2 separate regions of the Homo sapiens genome follow, and region 2 is linked to region 1. Evidence: promoter capture Hi-C in human tissues and cell types (Jung and others, 2019). All regions are on one chromosome and are shown on one strand. Each heading gives the region's core, a stretch centred on a gene start or on the middle of the fragment in contact. The rest is flanking DNA. Distances are from core to core; before and after follow the strand shown. Region 1 holds the start of RASD1 (ras related dexamethasone induced 1). Region 2 has its middle 25 kb from the start of MED9.

What was found. Contacts are between HindIII fragments. The study calls those that stand out against the background at their distance.
Region 2: a contact is called between a fragment that was not itself captured here and the fragment with the promoter of RASD1 in region 1, in 1 of the 25 tissues and cell types used here (mesendoderm cells).

The regions. Positions count from the first base shown.
Region 1 is chr17:17,493,306-17,499,241 of GRCh38, forward strand. It overlaps RASD1 (ras related dexamethasone induced 1), which reads right to left and starts at 3,090. Exons shown (of 2, transcript NM_016084.5): 1 at 2,591-3,090; 2 at 1,132-2,379. The coding sequence starts at 2,876. The coding sequence ends at 1,820. RefSeq lists silencers at 3,021-3,240, 3,401-3,530, 3,581-3,810. The HindIII fragment of the contact is 34,145 bases long and covers 1-5,936 here.
Region 2 is chr17:17,449,025-17,454,960 of GRCh38, forward strand. No RefSeq gene overlaps it. Among named protein-coding and RNA genes, the nearest start is that of MED9, 25 kb to the right of the region's middle. RefSeq lists an enhancer at 1,067-1,568. The HindIII fragment of the contact is 3,536 bases long and covers 1,232-4,767 here.

The DNA of each region.
Region 1 (5,936 bases), core at 1,840-4,339:
CACAACCACACCTCTGCTCCTCACTCCCTCCGCCCCAGCACACACACCCGCCCCAGCACACACACCCGCTGAACCAGTGTGGAACAGGAACTCCTCTCCCGGCTGGCCTCAAGGGCAGTTTGCCTGGCGGGTCATCCCTGGGCTGTCCTTAGTTGCCTTTTATTTTTGGAGGGGGGAGGTGGGGGGTGCCTTTTGGTGACTCGAGGAGGTTCAGTCCTGTGGGGAGCCGCCCTCACCAGAGCAGGGTTGAAATCCTTCTAGGACAATTTTGAGTGTCTCTCACAGGGCTGAGCGTCCTCTGAAAGCCACCAATTACTTGGATTACTGGGTGGCCGGCATTTATGCTAAGTACTTTTCAAACATCACACTTAATCCCCACAGTGAGCCCATGCCGAGGGTGTTCTCTCTTCCCGGGGTGAAGAATTAGAGGCTTGGCAGGTGTCACCCACCAACAGGTTTGCAGTACTAGTGGCAGAGAGATTGGTGTTCTGGGGTGCCTTAGCCATGAGACGGAGACAGCAAGGCTGAAGGGGGATGGGGCTCTACACCTGGCCAGGAGCACTTCCTGGAGCTAGAGGGGAGCAGAGGCTGAGGAGTTAGCTGTTTCCAGACAGGGTGGCACCCTGGAGTGAGCGGGTGGTGGGGGCGCGCCAGGATGGTCCTGTTTCCAGATGGGGTCTCAGGCTCTTTCCCCAGGGCCTGACTGATGCCTCCAACAGTCCGAAAGTTTGCCTGGGCCCACACTGAGTCTGGTGACAAAATGGTTAGGCACAGTTCCAGTGGCTTTTACGCTGAAGAATTCAGAACATTCTCTCAGAAAATGAGGCCTTTTGTCATCTAACCCAAAGAAAATTAAGCGGGTGGATGGCTAGAAAGAGTTCATCTCCAGGGGGGACCCTGAAATCCTTTATATTCTTCCCGGTTTTCTAGGGAACCATCCCCTACATAGATGCCCCAGGCATCTGGGGCTTTTCTGGCAGCTGAAGCTGCCTTCAGAAGGCCAGGGTTATTTTCCAGTTCTGGGGAAGGTAAGTTCTAGTTCCACCTAAGTCAAAGCCCAGCCCTTTCCTTCTCCCCACCCTTCCCCACTCCAGCCATCTCTAAAAGCAAAAAAAAAAAAAAAAAAACCGGTTTTCCATTTTAAATTATTTTATTGTATATTAAAAAACCAAATAAAGCAATAACTTTAAAGACCTCAGACACACACAGTATAAACACCTGGGTAAGGTTTTGTTCGTGTCCATGTTGACACCGGAACTACCGTTAAAGTGCAAGTTTTGTTTTGTGTTCCTTTGTGCAGTTTCACTCACATGTAAACAAGTCACTTGGCTATGATTTGACCCACGCCCCCCCGCTTAGTTTTGGGAGGGCAGAGGCTCTACCGGCTGTCACAGCAACCCGGAATCACAGACAAGATAATGCCCCGTGGGTCCTGACCCTCAAGCGGGCATGACGGTTTCTTGAAGCCTAGCAGAGGCTGGATAACTTCACATCCCTCCCCCACCCCGCGCTCACTCTTAGGTCTTTGAGAAGATAAATCCACCCTCGGCTGGGCCCTCGCTCCCAAAGTTATGGGGGTGGCGGGCCTCAATGGGGGACCGGGGGTGGGGAATAGTCCCAGTCTTGGCCCGTTCTCTTTCCTTCCGGAGCAGATGACCGTCCCTTCTCGGTTCAGTGGCGCCTCCCCAGTGCTGGGGGCGGATCGCCGGGAGGGGAGACGCCAGTCCGCGCGCGCTCCCGGCCTGGGGCGCACCGGGCCGTTGGATTTGACTTAACAAAAAGGTCCTCCTTAGGTTGTGTCGCCAGCGCGGCGGGGCTCCTAGCTGATGACGCAGCGCTCCTTGTCCTTGGCCTGGCTGCCGGCGCTGGCCTTCTCGCGGATGTACATGAGGTCGCTGTGTACGCTGGGCCGGCGCGCGAAGGGTGCCACGATGCCAAAGGCGTCGCCCGGGTCGCCGCCGCCGCCGCCGCTGCCGGCCCGCAGCAGCTTCTTGTTCCGCAGCGCCTTCTTGTGCAGCACGTCGCAGTACTGCACCGAGACCTTGCGGTGCAGGTCTGGGCTCATCTCGCTGGGCAGCTTGGCCATGGCGAAGAGCGCGCGGAACATCTGGTCCAGGCTGCTGTTCTTCTTGGCCGAGATCTCGAAGTAGGCGCAGCGCTGGGGGTCGTCGCCCACCAGCTGCTCGATCTCGCGCTGGTCCACCTCGCGGTAGAAGTCGCGGTCACCCTTGTTGCCGCAGATGACCAGGGGCACGTCCACGTTCTCCTTGGTTTTGTTCTTGAGGCAAGACTTGGTGTCGAGGATCTGCTGCCTGAGCCGCTGCACCTCCTCGAAGGAGTCGCGGTTGTCCAGACTGAACACCAGGATGAAAACGTCTCCTAGAGGGGGCACAGAGAGCAGAAAAGGAGAAGGTGAGGGTGGCCGCCCAGGGGACAAGTCGGGCTGACTTTGAGGCCGCGCGGGGCGCGCTAGCCTCTCTAAGCGCGAAGCGCACTACTCGGCGCGCGGCAGCCGGACCGGCGCTCGCGGGGCGCCCTGGCCGAGGGTTCCCCGCCCTTCCCTCCCGCACCTGCCCGGCCCCCGGCTCACCTGTGAGGATGGAGAGGCGCCGCATGGCGGGGAACGGGTGGTTGCCGGACGTGTCGAGGATGTCGAGCTGGTAGACCTCGCCGCGGATGGAGTAGAACTTGCGGTGGAAGTCCTCGATGGTAGGCGTGTAGGCGTCCTCGAAGCGGCCGGTGAGGAAGCGCGACACGATGGCCGTCTTGCCCACCTTGGACGAGCCGAGGATGACCATGCGATAGCAGTTCTTGGCCGGGATACTCAGCTCCGAGTCGCTCGGGCACATCTTCTTGATCATCGCGGCCAGTTTCATTGGGCAGAGGGGCCGCGAGGGCGGGCGCGGGGCCGAGAGAAGGGCAGAGAGCGGCTGAGGGTCGCTGGGGTGGCACGCGGGGTGAGCGGCTGGAGGGCTCTGCTCGGGCTGGGCGCGGCTCGGGCTTGGGGCTCCGGCTCCGCTCGGGCTGGGCTCGGGCTAGGCTGGGCTCGGCTGGGGTTCTCCCAGGATCTGGGCACAGGCCGCTTGCTCTGGCTTTGGCGCCCGGCCGCCGCCCTTATATGCAGCCTGCTCGGCTGCCCCGCCCCGGCCCTCCCAGCTCGGTGCGTCACGCCCCGCGGGGCCCGCCTCCCCCGCACCGGCTCCCAGTCCCGGCGACCTCGTCACCCGCTGCCGGGCTCCTGCTCTCTGGGCGCGGGGGCTGGGGGGAGCAGTCCAGGGTCGGGCTGAGGCTGGAGGCGCTCGGACTCCGCTTTTCCACTGCCGCGGGCTCGGCGGCCGCAGGGGCGTCGGGGTTCTGGTCCCGGCGGTGCCCCTGTCCCTCTGCGACTTCGGGCAAGGACCCCCATTCCTGCACCTCCCGCGCGCGTACACTTATTTTCTTTGGTTCTCAGTTTCCCCAGAGAATAGGAATCTAGTAAGTAACCCAGTAAGCGCAGCAGCGTTTGCTGAGTGCTTGCGCGGACCGTATATTGCAGTCCTCAGAGCACAGCCCCAGCCCCAGCCCCCTTCCGCTCCGGTCCCCAGCCGGGCTCTTGTTCCCGGGAGGCGACCGCCGGGCGGACGCGGGGTTTCAGGGCCTCAGGCGCGGAGCTCGGCACCGCGCGCTCGGGCCGCCAGAGGGCAGCAGAGGGCCCGGCCGGCGGCTCGGGGAGGCTGTGGCCGCCGCGGGCAGAGCTAGAACAGAGGCTAGGAGCAGGCGGGTGGGGAGCGGCAGGGATGGAGCAGGGGTCTCAGGGCGCCTTGCTGGGGCCCAACAGGAGCGGTCCCCAACCCCGCGCTCTGCTGCAGGCCTCAGCCTGCTCCTTTCTCCCAGCCAGAGATGCTCTGTGGTATGGAGGGCTCTGCAGCCAGCGGCCCACCCCGTCCATCATAGCATTTTGGGCTTTTACTGTGCCGCGCGTGGGCCGACGTTCTCATTGTCTAGCTGAGAGACCTGGAGCTCAAAGCCACAGCGAGCCAGGAAGGCCCTGGGAGCACAGCACAGCCTCTTGCTTTCTCCTGGGCCTCAGTTTTCTCTTCTGGAAGATACTGATTCTGGTTCTGTGATTAAGGATGAAAATATGCAAATGCTTTAGGAGGGCGGGGCCTGGTAATAACAATAGCAACAATAACAGTAGTATTGACCCATGAGGCCTGGTGGGGGTACTCTCAAGAGCACACCAGGTCGATCAGTAACCAGGAGTGGGGTGATGTTGCTGAACATTGGCAACAGGCTGTCTGGAGCCAGCTCCTCAGCCCTGAGCTCTTGAGGCAGTCACTGCTCCTCAAGGCAACCTGTGTGCTCAGTGTTTTGCTTTGGCCACGTCTGACTTACGAGAAAACTAGGGAGCCATTAGCTGGCACCACCGGCCCAGCTGTCAGGTGGTGGTCTGCAGGCAGTGCTGTGAGTGCCATACCACCCACCCCATGCCTACCCACCTCCCTCCCACGCTGGCACTTGCTGTAGGGGCTGCTGCAGGACACCACTAACTTGTTTCTCAGCCCAGCTTGGCCCCCATCCTCAGAGTCCCTGCATCTCTCCCAGGCCTCACTCTTACTGTCAGATATTTCAAATGCACGCATCACACAGTGAGCATCCAAGGGCTCATCAGTGGCCCTGGCCTGGCTCTGATTCCTGGTGTCACTTATGCAGCAGTTATCCGACAGGCTAGCTGGGGCTGGAGCCCCGCCATTCTTGGTTCCTGCCCCCATCTGAGGTATGTCTGCCAGAGTCTGGGAGAAGGGGAGAAGGAACTGAGTCGCAGCCCTGGATATAGGGCTGCAGTGGTGCAGGGTGTTCACTGCATAAAGGAGCCAGTTGAGGGTACATGGGGGGGCTCAGTTAAGGTACGGACCTGAACCACCTTCAGACTGAGCACCGCCTTCCTGTGCCTCCCACAGCGGCACTGCATGGGCAGCCGGGCTCTAACTTGGGATGACTGATGGCCAGGGCTATAGTGAAGGTGGACCCCACACAGCCATTGCCTCCTGGGGCTCTAGTCCCAAGAGGGTCCATTTGATATGAGTGGAGGGCCCGAGGGTCAAGGATCACAGCCCAGCTCTCCCCTGGTCAGTGTCCAGGCTGGCCCCTTAAATCAGGAACATGACACTGGCAGGCACTGATCTAGCCTGTGTCCTCAGCCACAGTGATTCCTGGTACCATCTGTGCATGGCCGTCTGCCCTACGGATGCTGGGTTGTGAAGACCCAGGCCCACCTGCCATTCCCATTCTGAATGCCCCAGAGCGCCTCCTGTCAAGGAGGTGGCCTCTGGGACTTTACTCCTCAAGCAGCAAGCCAACTTCCTTGTTTCCGCCCTCGTCTTTTCTTTTAAAAGGGCATCTCTTTCCTTTTATTACAAAAGTAATAAATGCTCATGGTTTTTTAAAAACCCAAGCCATTTCAGAAAGGACCAGAATGAAAGAAGCACTGGGATCAGGCCTCTCTCGGCCACACCCAGGACAGCCTAGCCACCAATTCTGTGGGGTGGCATCTCCTGATGTCCCCACATGGGCGGACTCCCAACTGCATGAAGGAAGTCTTACCCCGGTGCAGCCTCTGCCACCCAGCTCTTTGTTCATGCAGGTGCCCTTTTTCCTTCTTCTGGGGTTTGCCTGTGTGACTTTATGCCAGGCCCTACCCTAGGCTGGCTAATCAGAGTGGCCGGGGAGGACTGGGGGCTGGAAGACAAACAGGAACAACTCGCAACTCACAGAACCATCCGCCCCGTGGATCCCGGAGTCCCACAGAGAGGGAGCACGTGTACTGGGCTTCCCAGCACTCCCGCCGCCTGGGCCCTGTCAGCCATCGCGGCATTTGATGTCCAGGTTGATCACAGTCCCATGCTGTATGCAATAAATAATTCTGTTTTCTGTGTGTTTGGGGCATGAGACAACAA
Region 2 (5,936 bases), core at 1,750-4,249, 44 kb before region 1:
ATAACAGGCAGTGCCAGTGTGGACAGTGGTGGGATAAGCTGTGGGCTGGCACCCCATCGTACAGATGAGGACACAGCTCAGAGGGATCCAGAGACTTGTCCAAAGTCCCATAACTAAGGACTGGCAGAGCTGGGATTTGAACCAGCCCCTCTGGCTGCAACGCCTGCCACCTTTTCCTCCCTTGAAACAGCTCCATGCCTTAATTAGGGGCAGTGTTGGCCAGGCGCGGTGGCTCATGCCTGTAATCCCAGCACTTTGAGAGGCCGAAGCGGGCGGATCACCTGAGGTCAGGAGTTCGAGACCAGCCTGGCCAACATGGTGAAACCCTGTCTCTACCAAAAATACAAAAATTAGCTGGGTGTGATGGCAGGAGCCTGTAATCCCAGCTACTCAGGAAGCTGAGGCAGGAGAATTGCTTGAACCTGGGAGGTGGAAGGTGCGGTGAGCAGAGATGGTGCCACTGCACTCTAGCCTCGGTCACAAGAGCAAAACTCCATCTCAAAAAAAAAAAAAAAAAAAAATTAGGGGCAGTGTTCTGGACTCTGGCTTTCAGGCCTAGCTCTCTGATTCTCCCAGCACATCCATGAGCAACCAAACATGCCTTCTGCTTTTTTTCAAAGTTAATTTTGTTATTGAAGTATCAGATACATACAGAAAAGATCACAGATCCTAAGTGTGCAGTTCAATGAAGTTTGACAAAGCAAACACACTCATGTAATCAGAACCCAGACCAAGAAATAGAACAGGGCCAGCACCTTAGAGACTCTCCCAGGGTCTCTCCTCCCAAACATAACCACCACCAGATTTCTAGATTGGTTCTGCTTGTTTTTGAGCTTTATAGAAACAGCATGATATAGTGCACACCCTTTTCGTGTCTGGCTTCTTTGAGTTAGCGTGGGTGAGAGTCATCCATGCTGCTGTACGTAGCTGAGGTTTCTCCATCCTCCGTGCTGTCTGGTGTGAAGGGCCGTAACCAGCTTACCTGTTCTATTGTGAATGGACATTTGATGTTTGAATGGTGCTGCTAGGAATATTCTATTCTTATGCCTGTCTTTTGGCACCAGTGTGTACCCAATACCCTCTTAAGAAATGCTTCTGCTAAAGTGAGCAGAGTTGGTCTATGTTGTTTACAGCTAAGCACCTTGGTTGATGCCATTTATAAGCACTACTATTGTCCCCACTTTACAGAGGAGGAAACTGAGGTTCAGAGAGAGGTTCAGCCACAGGCCAGGCACAGCTGCGGCCTTAGTTACAAGGCCATGTCACTAAAGAGTAGCAGAGCTGGGATTTGATCAGAGCTGTCCTCTTAACCACTAGTTAAGGGACACAAGTGCATCTCCGCCCCTTAGACCTGCCTGATGCCGCACAGCGGTTTAACAGATAATACCCACCCCCTTGATGGAAATGGCTGGGGCGGGGGACTGAGAGCTGCACTGATGGTGCTGTCCTGGGCAGGGCTTGGGATGTCGCCAGCATGCAGGAGCCCTGAGAGGAGGATCAGTCCCTTCCAAGAGGGATATGAGGGAGGGGGAAGCCTCCTGGGCTGCCACTGCTCCTGGCAGCAGCCCTTCCAGAGGGAGGCTCCTCCCTGAGGGCAGGGGAGCTTCCTTTCGGAGGAGAGGGCAGGCTCCTTCGCTGGGCAGAGCGGTGGTCTGGGCATTGCTGAAGCGGCCAGTGGAGACAGGGATCCCAGCCTTGAGATTCACCCTCTGCCTCCCATGGGAATCCTAAGTAAGAAAATGATGCTTCTGACTGACTGTCTGGCAGCCCCTGGTGAAGAGCTGTCCCTACCCACTCACCTCTGCAAATAGCAGAATGGCATATGGTGGCAGAAGGAAGGGTCCAGAAGGTAGTTCTTCTGCGGAATGACCCATGCGATGGGCTGCTCTGTGACGCATTGGAGTGGGGATCATTTCCTTGCAGTGGAGGAGTGGGTCAGAGGCCGGGCTTGTCACATGGAAGTCCCTCCTGGGGATGGGCCACTGACAGATCCCTCTGTAAACAGCATTTGCATCAGATTCACTGCTCCAGAAAGTGGGGATCAGGGTCCCTGAAGCCAAGGAGCAGGCATAGAAGAGGCCAGAGGTGACTGGCAGCATATTTGACAGGATGCATAAATCTTGTTAAATGGGAGAGAAGCCAAACACGCTGGCTTTGTATGGGCAATTTAGACCTTCCTAGGTCATTCCCTGCAGGGACTGCAGGCCTCAGTGTAGTCTCTGATCTGCAGCAGCTGCAACAGCATCTAGGAACTTGTTAGACTTACTGGTTTTCAGGTTGCTACTTAATCGGAAGTTCTTCAGGTGGGGCCCAGCATTCTGTGTTTTAACATGCCAAGGGGATTCTGACGCATGCTGAAGTTTGAAAGCCACCAGCATAGTGCAATATGAAGTAGGCATTATCATCAATCCCATCTCACAGCTGAGGGAACAGAAGGTCTGAGCCAGTTTTACCCCAAGTTACACAATTAATAGGAAAGACAACAAAATTAGGTGCAGCTGTGAATAACAAAAATCGAACTCCAGAGCACCATGAACTAAACAAAATTGTTTATTTTTCCTTCATGGTCCAAGATAGCTGCTGAAGCTCCAGCCGTTGTGTCCATATTCTAGGCAGCAAAAAGGAGGGAAAGGGCCAGGCGCAGTAGCTCACGCCTGTAATCCCAACACTTTGGGAGGACGAGGCAGGTGGATCACTTGAGGTCAGGAGTTCGAGACCAGCCTGGCCAACACGGTGAAACCCCATCTCCACAAAAAATGCAAAATTAGCCAGGCATGATGGCGTGCACCTGTAATCCCAGCTACTCAGGAGGCTGAGGCAGGAGAATTGCTTGAACGGGAGGTTGCAGTGTTGCAGTGAGCCAAGATCGCGCCACTGCATTCCAGCCTGGGTGACAGAGCGAGACTCCGTCTCAAAAAAAAAAAAAAAAAAAAAAAAAAACCACTGTGCTCCAGCCTGGGTGACAGAGTGACACTTTGCACTTTGTCTCAAAACAAAAACAAACAAACAAAACAAGTAAAGGGAGGAAGGTCCCACCCTGTCCCTGTAGGGGACACTTCCTAAAATTGTATATACGGCTTCAGCTTACATCTCATTGGCTGCAATTTAGTCAATTGCTTCACCTAGCAGAAAGAGAGGCTGGGAGAATAAAGTCTGGGTCCTAAGTGACTATGCATGCAGGTAAAACTTGGGGTTCTGCTGCTATAGAAGAGCCTCGATAATGGGGAACAACTAGGCAGTCTCTGCCGCAAGAGTGTATCTGAGAATCAACCCAGGGCTTCTAATTTCACCATCTGAAGTTATGTTTTTGTTTAAATGTTGTCTTTATCTTCCCCTTTTAGAAGTCCCACCAAAAGCAAGCCTTCTTGGAAGTCTTCTCCGTTGCTGCTGTCTCCCCAATGCCTAGAACGATGCCTGGCTTGTAGTGGTGATCTTTGCTTGCTATTGAATATACTACTTTAAAAATTAAATTAAATACCTCATGTGAGAGAAGCTTTTTCAGGGTCTGGCACATGGAAGGTACTCAGAATGTGGTTGCTGCTATGTATTTAAAGCAGTGCTTCCCAACAAAGCCCCGCTGGCCCCTGGCAAGGTTTACCTCTTAGACTCTCAATCCCACCACCACCGCCTGCCTGCATGTACAGACTTGCACACAAATCTTGGCCCTTTCATTGGACTTTAAGAATAATCAGTGCTGGTCAGGCGCAGTGGCTCACTCCTTTAATCTCAGCACTCTGGAAGGCTGAGGTGGGCGGATCACTTGAGGTCAGGAGTTTGAGACCAGCCTGGGCAACATGGTGAAACCCCATCTCCACCAAAAAAAAAAAAAAAATTAGCCAAGTGTGGTGGTGCATGCCTGTAGTCCCCAACTACTTAGGAGGCTGAGGCAAGTGAATTACTTGAACCTGGGAGGCAGAGGTTGCAGTGAGCCAAGTTTGAGCCACTGCACTCCAGCCTGGTCAACAGAGCAAGACTCTGTCTCAAAAAAAAAAAAAAAAAAAAAAAAAATCAGTGCTGTTTGATTGGGTCTGGAGAATGCAAGCCACAGCCCAAGTAAGCAACTAGATTGGGAGAGAAAATTCATCTCGCCATTTCTTGTACAAGCCTGGAAGTAGGCCTTAAGAACAAAGCTGGGCTCAGGCTGCCGTGATGGGGTGTCTGTCTATTCTGGCGTTTGTCATTTGAGCTTTTCCTTCGTAGGTGCAGCCTTCTTGGGTTCCAGGGACTTGGTGCCCTTACTTACAGCCCATTGGGTGCCTGCCCCTTGTCGCCAGTGTTCAGGTTTGTGGTCACCCCTATGTTGCCTAACTGGGTCAGGCTGGATGGAGCCGGGAGGGCTGTTTGCGTTGGCTGCTTTTCCCTGTCAACTGTCACACACGAATGCAGCCTCCAAAATTCAATTTAACATAAATCTTGCCATTTGGACCAAGGCAAGTGGGCCTTATTCAAATCCGAACAGTCTATTATTGAGCTCGGAAACAGACAATAGCTGATGCTGTGATGTTCAGTTGCAACTGCCCTAATTACAGACAAACACTAATTTCATAGGATTTTTTAGAGTGAAGCAAATCTTTTGAAAGAAGTGTCCTCATTTAAAAACTACAGATCGAGAGGGCTATGAGGGTTCATTTTATTTATTGATAATGTGGACTGCGTCAATTCCTGAATCTCATTTGTTCAAACTCCCAGGGCTGTTGTGAGGAGCAAAATGAAAATGAGGTAATGTTTGTGGAGGTCCCTAATGAAGAGCAAAGCAATCCAACAGCTATAGTAGTATTGTGCGTTCAACGCCCTGCACCTTGCAGCTGCGTCCCATTAACAATGACCTCTGAGCTGTGAGCTCCAGGGCCTCTCCCCTCACTCCGCGGGCCACTCTCCATGGGTCCCTCACCTCCAGCTTCCTCTTTCCTTGAATGTGGCTTCTCAACATTTGGGCCATGACTCAAATGTCACCTCGTTGAGGAAAAGGTGTCCAATCAGTACTTACTGTGGTGCTCCGCCCTGTGTCTTTCCGAGTTCTTAGTCCCATGAGATAATCTGATGCATTGGTTGGCTTGTTTTTAATCTCTCTTCTCCATGGGAGCACCAGCTCCATAAGGGCAGAGACCTTGTCTGTCTTGTTCACACCTGCATCTCCTGTGTCCAGAACAGTGTCTTGCACCTAGTAGAGATGGATGTATATTGATTGGGAGTTTGGCTTGGGGAGGAAAGGAGAAAGTGAACTGTTAAGAAATTAGGGCATTTAGCATTATCTAAGAAACTGAAGCAGTACCTGGGGTCCCTGAGTACCTCGAACAGGTGTGTGGTGTGGTACCTGGAGTCCCCAGGGCCCCTAAGTACCTGGAGCAAGTGTGTGGAGTGGTACCCAGAGTCCCTGGAATCTCTAAGTACCTGGAGCAAGTACATGGAGAGGTACCTGGAGTCCCAGAATCCCTAAGTACCTGGAGTAGGTGGGTGGAGCAGTACCCAGACTCCCTGGAATCCCTAAGTACCTGGAGCAGATGTGTGGAGTGGTATCTGGAGCAGGTGTGTGGCATGGTACCTGGAGTCCCTGGAATCACTAAGTACCTGGAGCAGGTGTGTGGCATGGTACCTGGAGTTCCCTGGAATCTCTAAGTACCTTAAGCAGGTGTGTGGCATGTTACCTGGAGTCCCTGGAATCCCTAAGTACCTGGAGCAGGTGTGTGGAGTGGTATCTGGAGCAGGTGTGTGGCATGGTACCTGGAGTCCCTGGAATCACTAAGTACCTGGAGCAGGTGTGTGGCATGGTACCTGGAGTTCCCTGGAATCTCTAAGTACCTGAGCAGGTGTGTGGCATGTTACCTGGAGTCCCTGGAATCCCTAAGTACCTGGAGCAGGTGTGTGGCGTGGTACCTGAAGCAGGTGTGTGGAGTGGTACCTGGAGCAGGTGTGTGGCATGGTACCTGGAGTTCCTG